Regions from separate parts of the Homo sapiens genome. Here region 1 is linked to region 2. Evidence: promoter capture Hi-C in human tissues and cell types (Jung and others, 2019). All regions are on one chromosome and are shown on one strand. Each heading gives the region's core, a stretch centred on a gene start or on the middle of the fragment in contact. The rest is flanking DNA. Distances are from core to core; before and after follow the strand shown. Region 1 holds the start of POLR2L (RNA polymerase II, I and III subunit L). Region 2 holds the start of TALDO1 (transaldolase 1).

The links. Contacts are between HindIII fragments. The study calls those that stand out against the background at their distance.
Region 1: a contact is called between the fragment with the promoter of POLR2L here and the fragment with the promoter of TALDO1 in region 2, in 9 of the 25 tissues and cell types used here (adrenal gland, dorsolateral prefrontal cortex, heart left ventricle and 6 more).

What each region holds. Positions count from the first base shown.
Region 1 is chr11:839,710-843,782 of GRCh38, reverse strand. POLR2L (RNA polymerase II, I and III subunit L) reads left to right here and starts at 1,254. Exons shown (of 2, transcript NM_021128.5): 1 at 1,254-1,369; 2 at 3,303-4,062. The coding sequence starts at 1,275. The coding sequence ends at 3,411. TSPAN4 (tetraspanin 4) reads right to left here and starts at 931. Exons shown (of 9, transcript NM_003271.5): 1 at 868-931. RefSeq lists silencers at 259-427, 413-642, 663-752, 863-1,492, 3,721-3,770 and enhancers at 761-1,504, 1,505-2,250, 2,251-2,995. The HindIII fragment of the contact is 28,886 bases long and covers 1-4,073 here.
Region 2 is chr11:745,215-748,959 of GRCh38, reverse strand. It overlaps TALDO1 (transaldolase 1), which reads right to left and starts at 1,496. Exons shown (of 8, transcript NM_006755.2): 1 at 1,382-1,496. The coding sequence starts at 1,478. It overlaps LOC105376509 (a long non-coding RNA gene), which reads right to left. Exons shown (of 3, transcript XR_930962.3): 3 at 1,998-2,211. RefSeq lists silencers at 896-985, 1,086-1,375, 1,436-2,035 and enhancers at 1,215-1,863, 2,166-2,225, 1,864-2,512. The HindIII fragment of the contact is 22,782 bases long and covers 1-3,745 here.

The DNA of each region.
Region 1 (4,073 bases), core at 5-2,504, 95 kb before region 2:
CCCAGAGCCCCCCATGGGTGCCGCTTTGCGGCCCACCCACCCCCACAGCCCACCTCGCACCTCCAAGGAGCCTTCTTTGCCTCTCACTGCACACCGACCCCCCATTTCCTCACCCCCACCCCAGGGGCACAGCAAGAAGGGTGCTGGTGCCAGCCCCCCCGCACTCCATCCGAGAGACACGGGCTCCTCGTCCCTCGTCGTCCGTAGGCCCTGAGCTCCAGGGCAAGCCAGAGCTGAGGCCTTCAGGGGGTCCTGCCAGTGCAGCCTCCGGGAGTCTGCCCAGGGATCCCCTGTGCCGGGGTCTTCCAGGTTCAGCTCAAAAAGCACCTCTTCCACGACTCCCTCCCCGACCTCCCTCCCGGGTCCCCTCTCCCCGTGCTCAGAGGCGCGTCTGAGCGTCGGGAGCTCGGGACGGCGAGCAGCCAGCAGAGCCGGGACCCGGGAGGGCGCACCCCGACCCCATTCCCGGGAAAGAGCGGAAAGAACGCGGACAGGAGCCCGGGGCGGGGAGCTGCCGGCGGGGGCTGTAATTGCGCAGCTGAGGCCAGGGCGGCGCCCCTAGGGGCTGGGCCGCGTCCAGAATGGGACCCCCGAACTCAGCGCCGAGAGCCCCGGACACCCCGCGGGCAGAGGCCGAGGCGGAGGAACCCACTACTCGGCGCGGCCAGGAGGGGCGGCAGGAAGACCCGCCCCGGCCCCCGCCCGCCCTCTCCCCGAGCCCCCGCGCCGGACCCCACTTGTTGCTGCGTGTCGGCTCTGGGCTCGAACTCGCGCGCCCCGCTCGCGTCCGGCTCCAGCCGCTCCCGGTCGGACACCTCCGGCCACGGGACCCTGGCCGCACGCCCCCACAACCCCCAGGCGCAGTACCTGCGCCGCCGCCTCCCGCTCGCGCCGCCCGCTCCCGCCGCGCAGCTGTCAGTCAAGCGGACACGAGAAACGCGAACCGCCGCCGCAGCTTTACGGCCCTGCTCAGACGCCGTAGCGCCGGGATGCACCAAGACGGTGGGCGGGGGTGTGCGGTCTGCTGCTGCCGCGGCCGCGCGGGCCCGGGAGCCCCGGGACGCACAGGCCCAGGAGCCCCGGGACGCACGGGAAGCCCCTATCGCGGCGGAAACTGCGGCCAGCGGTGGCGGGGCCGGTGGAGGGACGGCCGGAACAGCGGAGAACGAGCGGAGCCGATTCTCCCGCAACAGTGGACGCGCCCGGGGCGGGGCCTGGGGGGGTTCTTCGCGTGCGGCCGGGCCGGGCCGGGCAGTCTGGGACGCGCCGCCGCCATGATCATCCCTGTACGCTGCTTCACTTGTGGCAAGATCGTCGGCAACAAGTGGGAGGCTTACCTGGGGCTGCTGCAGGCCGAGTACACCGAGGGGTGAGGCGCGGGCCGGGGCTAGGGGCTGAGTCCGCCGTGGGGCGCGGGCCGGGGCTGGGGGCTGAGTCCGCCCTGGGGTGCGCGCCGGGGCGGGAGGCGCAGCGCTGCCTGAGGCCAGCGCCCCATGAGCAGCTTCAGGCCCGGCTTCTCCAGCCCCGCTCTGTGATCTGCTTTCGGGAGAACCTTATCCCCTGAAGTCTGGGGAAGAGAACGGAGTTGGGCTTCAAACCAGTGGTGTCCTGGGGATTCTAGGTGGCCTGGCGGGTCGCAGGCGTCTTGTCACCCGCAGTAAAGCCCTTGGCCTCCGCCCTATTCCCATCTCTGCCCCCAGGCCCACCCCATGTCCTGCAAACCTCGCTGCAGGACGGGCGGGCGCGGCGGCTGACATCTGTAATCCCAGCAGTTTGGGAGGCCGAGGCGAGAGGCTTGCTTGAGCCCAGGAGGTCGAGACCAGCCTGGACAACCTGGGGAGACCCTGATCTCCAGAAATTTATTTTATTTTATTTTTCTTTTTTGAGACGGAGTCTCGCTCCGTCGCCCAGGTTGGAGTGCAGTGGCGCGATCTCGGCTCACTGCAACCCCCGCCTCCTGGGCTCCAGCAATTCTCCTGTCTCAGCCTCCCGAGTAGCTGGGACTACAGGCGTGTGCCACCACGCCCGGCTAATTTTTGTATTTTCAGTAGAGATGGGATTTCGCCATGTTGGCCAGGCTGGTCTGGAACTCCTGACCTCAGGTGATCCACCCGCCTCGACCTCCCAAAGTGCTGAGGTTACAGGCGTGAGCCACCGCGCCTGGCTCTATCTTTTTAATTCGCCGGACATGGCGGTGCACACCTGTGGTCCCAGCTACTTGGGAGGCTGAGACGAGAAAATCGCTTGAGTCTGGGAGGCAGGTGGAGGTTGCAGTGAGCCAAGATCACGCCACTGCACTCCAGCCTGGAAGAGAGAGTGAAACTCCGTCTCACGCACACACACACACAGAAAAAGAAATGCAGGGTAGACTTGCTGACCACCCTCATCAGGCTTTGTAGGGGAGGCGTCTTTCTCCTGTGCTTGTCCCTTGGTGCTGCTGTCACCACGGTGCCTGAGTCTTGGTGCCCCCGCTGGAGTCTGACCCTCGCCCACTGAGTCTTCGTCACATGTGAAGCCCTGGGCTTGTGTGCGCCAGCCTGCCATCGGCACTTGGTGCAGCTTGCTGGACAAACGAGGAAAGCGAGTGGGCTGCTAGACTGAGTGGCTGGCGGCCTGTCCAGACCCTTTCCCCGGATAGGAACGGCAGGGGCCTCCCATGTGGCCTCCCCTTTCCCAAGCTTCTGTGTCTCTGCACATTGGAGCCATCGGTGTGGGAGTTTTCTGGAGGTCTTGAGGGTGACTGGAGCTAGGTCCCAGGGAAATGAAAGCTTCTAATTGGCTTGGGAAGTGGGAGAGGTGGCTCCGTGGAGAAGCAGTCTCTCTCTGATGGAAGGAAGCAGAGGTGAGGAAAGACCCCACAGCGGCAGAGCAGGGCTTGCTCTGGCTGGGGTGGGGGTGAACCAGCTAAGGGCAGGCCCCTGGAGAGCTACCCTGCCGTGGCCAGTGCTGGATGAGGTGGCTGCACATCAGCACCTTGGTGGTCTTGGTTTTCTAAGCTCCCCGCAATTACTTCGTTTTCATTTCATTTACATTTCTTACATACGTTATACACACACACGTACAGCCAGAGTAGGTGGGAGAGGAGGCTCCTCACGCTCCACCCAGGGTTCTGGGCATTTCCAGGTTACTCCAGCCAGGATCATACTGCTAGATCTCAGCTTCTGAGCCGGGTGAATCTGTTCGCCTTGCCGGTGGCGGGGGGGGTGAGGCCAGCAGGCAGTGAGAGGCAGGTTGGATGTGGGCTCCAGGCCTTTGCAGACCGTAGAGAACTCAGTTGGCCTCTGCTCCTCCCCTCGACACAGGGATGCGCTGGATGCCCTGGGCCTGAAGCGCTACTGCTGCCGCCGGATGCTGCTGGCCCACGTGGACCTGATCGAGAAGCTGCTCAATTATGCACCCCTGGAGAAGTGACCACGCTGGAACCCACCCACCCGCTGTGCTGACCATGGGCCCTGAGCGTCCTGCCCCGAATTCACGAGGCTGAGGCATCCGGGAGCTGGCGTAATGCCTGGCCGCAGTGTGTGTGTATCCGATACCCCACTCTGGAAGGAACCATCCAGTAAAGGTCTTTCAGAACCACTAAGGTCCCAGCCCTCACTAGGATGTCAGGAGCCAGGTCTAGGCCCAGCTTTCACACTGTGGCAGCCCAGTGAAGCAGACTGGGCCATGAACTCTCCTAGCCCTGGGGCCAGCCTGTTCCACAGGCACCCCTGCAGGAGGCGCTGCCAGGAGAGCCTTCCATCTCGGGGCTCTTTGAGGTTCCCTCCTTCTGGGTGTTCTTCAGGCTGAGCAGAGAGGCTCCTGTACCCTCTCTCTCGGAATCTGAAGAGCCAGATTTAGGCCGGGCAAAGGGGCTCACCCCTATAATCCCAGGACTTTGGGAGGCCAAGGCAGGAGGATCACTTGAGTCCAGAAATTCAAGACCCGCCTGGGCATCATAATGAGACCCCATCTCTACAACAAAATTTAATAAATTAGCTGGGCACAGTGTTCACACCTGTAGTCCCGGCCACTCGGGGCTGAGGCAGGAGGATCACTGGAACCTGGGAGGTTGCCACTGCAGTGAACTGTGT
Region 2 (3,745 bases), core at 247-2,746:
GTAAGGAACAATACAGATGAGCGCTCTGTCCACCAGGCAAACTGCAAATTATTCTCAGTGCTAAGAAGGGAAAAAACTGAGCAGCAGAAAAATGTGTAGCCCCTTTTCTGGAGCTTTCTTTCTTATGAAGAGAGGTCTGGACTACAACGGGGGGGCTGTGTGTGTGAGGGATTCACAGCTCTAGCTTTGGATCTCCCAAAGAGGGGTCCGGAGCAGACTGTGGCACCCCAAGCCAGTCACTGAATCCCCATATTTTATGGTTAAGCAGCCAAACATGCCAATTCACTCTCTAGGCTCTGCTAGATAAACAATGCCCTTACTCAGTTACCAAAGAGGAATTAAAGCCTGTTTCTCAAGTCACCATGAGAAAGCAGAAAAGAGAGGAAGTCACTTCCGTATTAGGTGCTCGCAGCATTCATCCATGAAGCGTTTCATGATTTTCTTAAAAAATATTACTTGTTCTCAACAAAACATAGACACAAGGCTCGTCTACTCTGCACTGCAGAGGACAGAAGAGCTAAGTATTAATAAATAATCCTTCTTTGTATTTTCCAAGTTCTCTCCAATGTAAACAACTCAAGCCCAGGAAAATCCAGTATTTAACAGTGTACCAACCCTGTGCTTTCATGGGCACCGGCTTTTACCCACCCGGTGCGTCTGGCGGTGGCTGTCCAGCAGGCCGGGCACCTGCCGCCCACGGAGTTGTCCCACTGGGCACCGCAGGGCTCAAGGGCGATGGCAGCACTGGCAGCTTCTGGTCAGAGCTAGCTGATGTCCCCGCTCTGCAGACATCAGCCCAACAAAATTGCATCTCGCTGACCACAAACTGGCCACGTGGAAGTCAGCTCGAAGCTCTACCCTGAATCTCTCCTGAACTCAAAGGCTCTGAAAGCTGCCTCGACCCATGAAGGTGCACAGAGGGGCTCCCGCGGGCTGCCCACAGCCCGTCCCGGGTGCGGGGTCTGAGGGCGCAGCCGACCCCACCCTGGGCGGAGGGCGAGGCTGGGGCTCCGGCTTCGTGCCCCACGGCTCGCAAGGACCCGTCAGTACCGCCCGCACCGCTGACCCCAGCACCGAGCCCCTCACGGCTGACCCCAGCTCCTCACGGCTGCCCCCGGCCCTGCTCCCTCACGGCCGACCCGGGCCCCGTTCCCCTCACGGTCGCCGCTGGCCCTGCGCCTCTCACGGCCGACCCGGGCCCCGCTCCCCTCACGGCTGTCCCTGGCCCCAACATCCGGCACCTGCGCTCATTCCTCCCGGAACGAGCCGCCCGGGGCACCGCCACCCGGTCCGCGTCCCGGAACGGGAGACCCGGGGAAATCGGGGCGCCGGGGCCTCTGGAGGGCGCTTGCGCCGCGCCCGGGCTCCGCGCCGTCCTCACCGTGGAAGTCGCCCGTGTCGGCCACCACGGTGGTGAACTGCTTGAGCTGGTCCAGCGCGGACTCCATCCTCTGACGCTTCACGGGTGAGCTCGACATAGCAAGACCGAGGGGTCTGCGGCGGCGGCGGCGGCGACGGGACGGGCGCGCGGACGGCCCACAATGCCCCGCGGGCGGCTGCCAATCGGAAAGCGGCGCGGGAGGGCGAGGCCCGCTGGTCCCTGCGCGCCTGGACGAAGCCCCGCCCCCGGGGACGAAGCCCGAGCGCCACTGCCGGCCGCGCACCGCAGCTGCGGATCCTACAGGCTGGGTCTCCCCAGGTCCTCAGCAGCCGCCGCGGACGGGCCCGGGAAAACACCTGCACGACACGGGGCGGCTGGGCCTCGCCTCCTTCCTGCCCCGCGGGACGCACCGGGAGGGCTGGAGGAGATGGACCTGGCCCGGGTGCCGACTCTGCGGGGCTGAACCCGCCAGGGCCGAACCCGGCGATGCAGGATCCATGGTGGGGCCAGGACTGGGGTCGGGGGCCGCTGCAGGAAGCAGGGGAGGGAGCGGCGGGGGACGCCCTGCGGGTGCAGGAGGCAGAGCAGGGGGCGGCTGCAGAGCCCGGGCGCCGGACGCGGCGGGGAACCTGCTTCTGGGAATCTGTTCCCCTGAGTCCTAAGCCCAGAGGTGTCCGGGGGACCGAACGGCGAGGCAGGCGTAGGAGGCCCAGCTGCCCTGCTTCTTACCATCGCTGACTTGCAGAGTTCCTTGTATATTCTGATCAAGTCTCTGTCGCTTGTGTCTGCGTTGCAGACACTGTAACCGCCCCATGGGTTCGCCTTGCCAGCTGCCGGGACAGAGTCTATTGTCAAGACAGGGGAATTGCAATAGAGAAAGCATAATTCACACAGAGCCGATTGTTCGGGAGACCAGAGTTTTATTCCTCAAATCAGTCTCCCCAAAACTCGGGGATCCCAGTATTTAAGAATAATTTGGTGGGTAGGGGGCCAGTGAGTCAGAAGTGCTGACTGGTCAGCTAGGGATGAAATCACAGGGAGTCGAAGCTGTCCGCTTATGCTGAGTCAGTCCCTGGGTAGAGGCCACACAACTGGTTGGCAGGTCCAGGTGGGGCCATCCGGTTGTCAGAAATGCAAAAACCTGAAAAGACTTTTTTTTTTTTTTGAGACGGAATCTCGCCCTTGTTGCCCAGGCTGGAGTGCAGTGGCGCGATCTTGGCTAACTACAACCTCCGCCTCCCGGGTTCGAGCGATTTTCCTGCCTCAGCCTCCCGAGTAGCTGGAATTACAGGCGCTCACCACCACGCCCGGCTAATTTTTGTATTTTTAGTACAGACGGGGTTTCATCATGTTGGCCAGCATGGTCTCGATCTCCTGACCTCGTGATCCGCCCACCTCAGTCTCCCAAAGTGCTGGGATTCCAGGCGTGAGCCACCGCGCCCGGCGGAAAAGACTTCTTAAAAGGCAAATCCTAGGCTGACGCGGTGGCTCAGGCCTGGAATCCCAGCACATTGAAAGGCCAAAGCAGGCGATCACTTGAGGTCAGGAGTTGGAGACCAGCGTGGCCAACATGCAAAACCCCGTCTCTACTAAAAATACAAAATTAGCCAGGCGTGGTGGCACATGGCTGTAATCCCAGCTACTTGGGAGGCTGAGGCAGGAGAATGGCTTGAACCTGGGAGGTGGAGGTTGCAGTGAGCCGAGATTGTCCCTCTGTACACTAACCTGGGCTACAGAACGAGACTCCATTTAAAAAAAAAAAAAAGGCCAACCCTAGGTTCACAGTAGTGTTGATATCTTGGGGAAGTTGCAAATCTTATCTTATGACCTCCAGAATAATGGCTGATAATATTTAGACTTCCAGCCCCTCTCATTCTAACTTGGTGGCTGGTGGCCTTTCATTCATTTTACAAGAACAGTCTAGTTTTGGGGAAGGGCTATTATTTAAACTATAAATTAAATTCCTTCCCAAGACTTGTTTGGCCTATGGCCAGTAATGGACAAGGACCGTTTGAAGGTTAGAAACAAGATGGAATTGGTTAAGTCTGTTATCTTTCACTGTCATAATTTCCTTAGTTATAATTTTGCAAAGGTGGTTTCAATACTTCCTCTCAGCATGTGTTCCCTTTTCATTTTAATAGTGTCTTTAATGAACGTTAGCTTTTTATTTTGATTAAGTTCAATTTATCAAGTTTTAATTTTATATTTACTCCTCTTTTTTGGTATCTTCTCTAAGGAGTCTTTGCTTGCTCCAAAGTGACAAATTTTTTTTTTTTTCTGGTGAGATGGAGATTTACTCTTGTTGCCCAGGCTGGAGTGCAATGGCGCGATCTCAGCTCACCGCATCCTCCGCCTCCCAGGTTC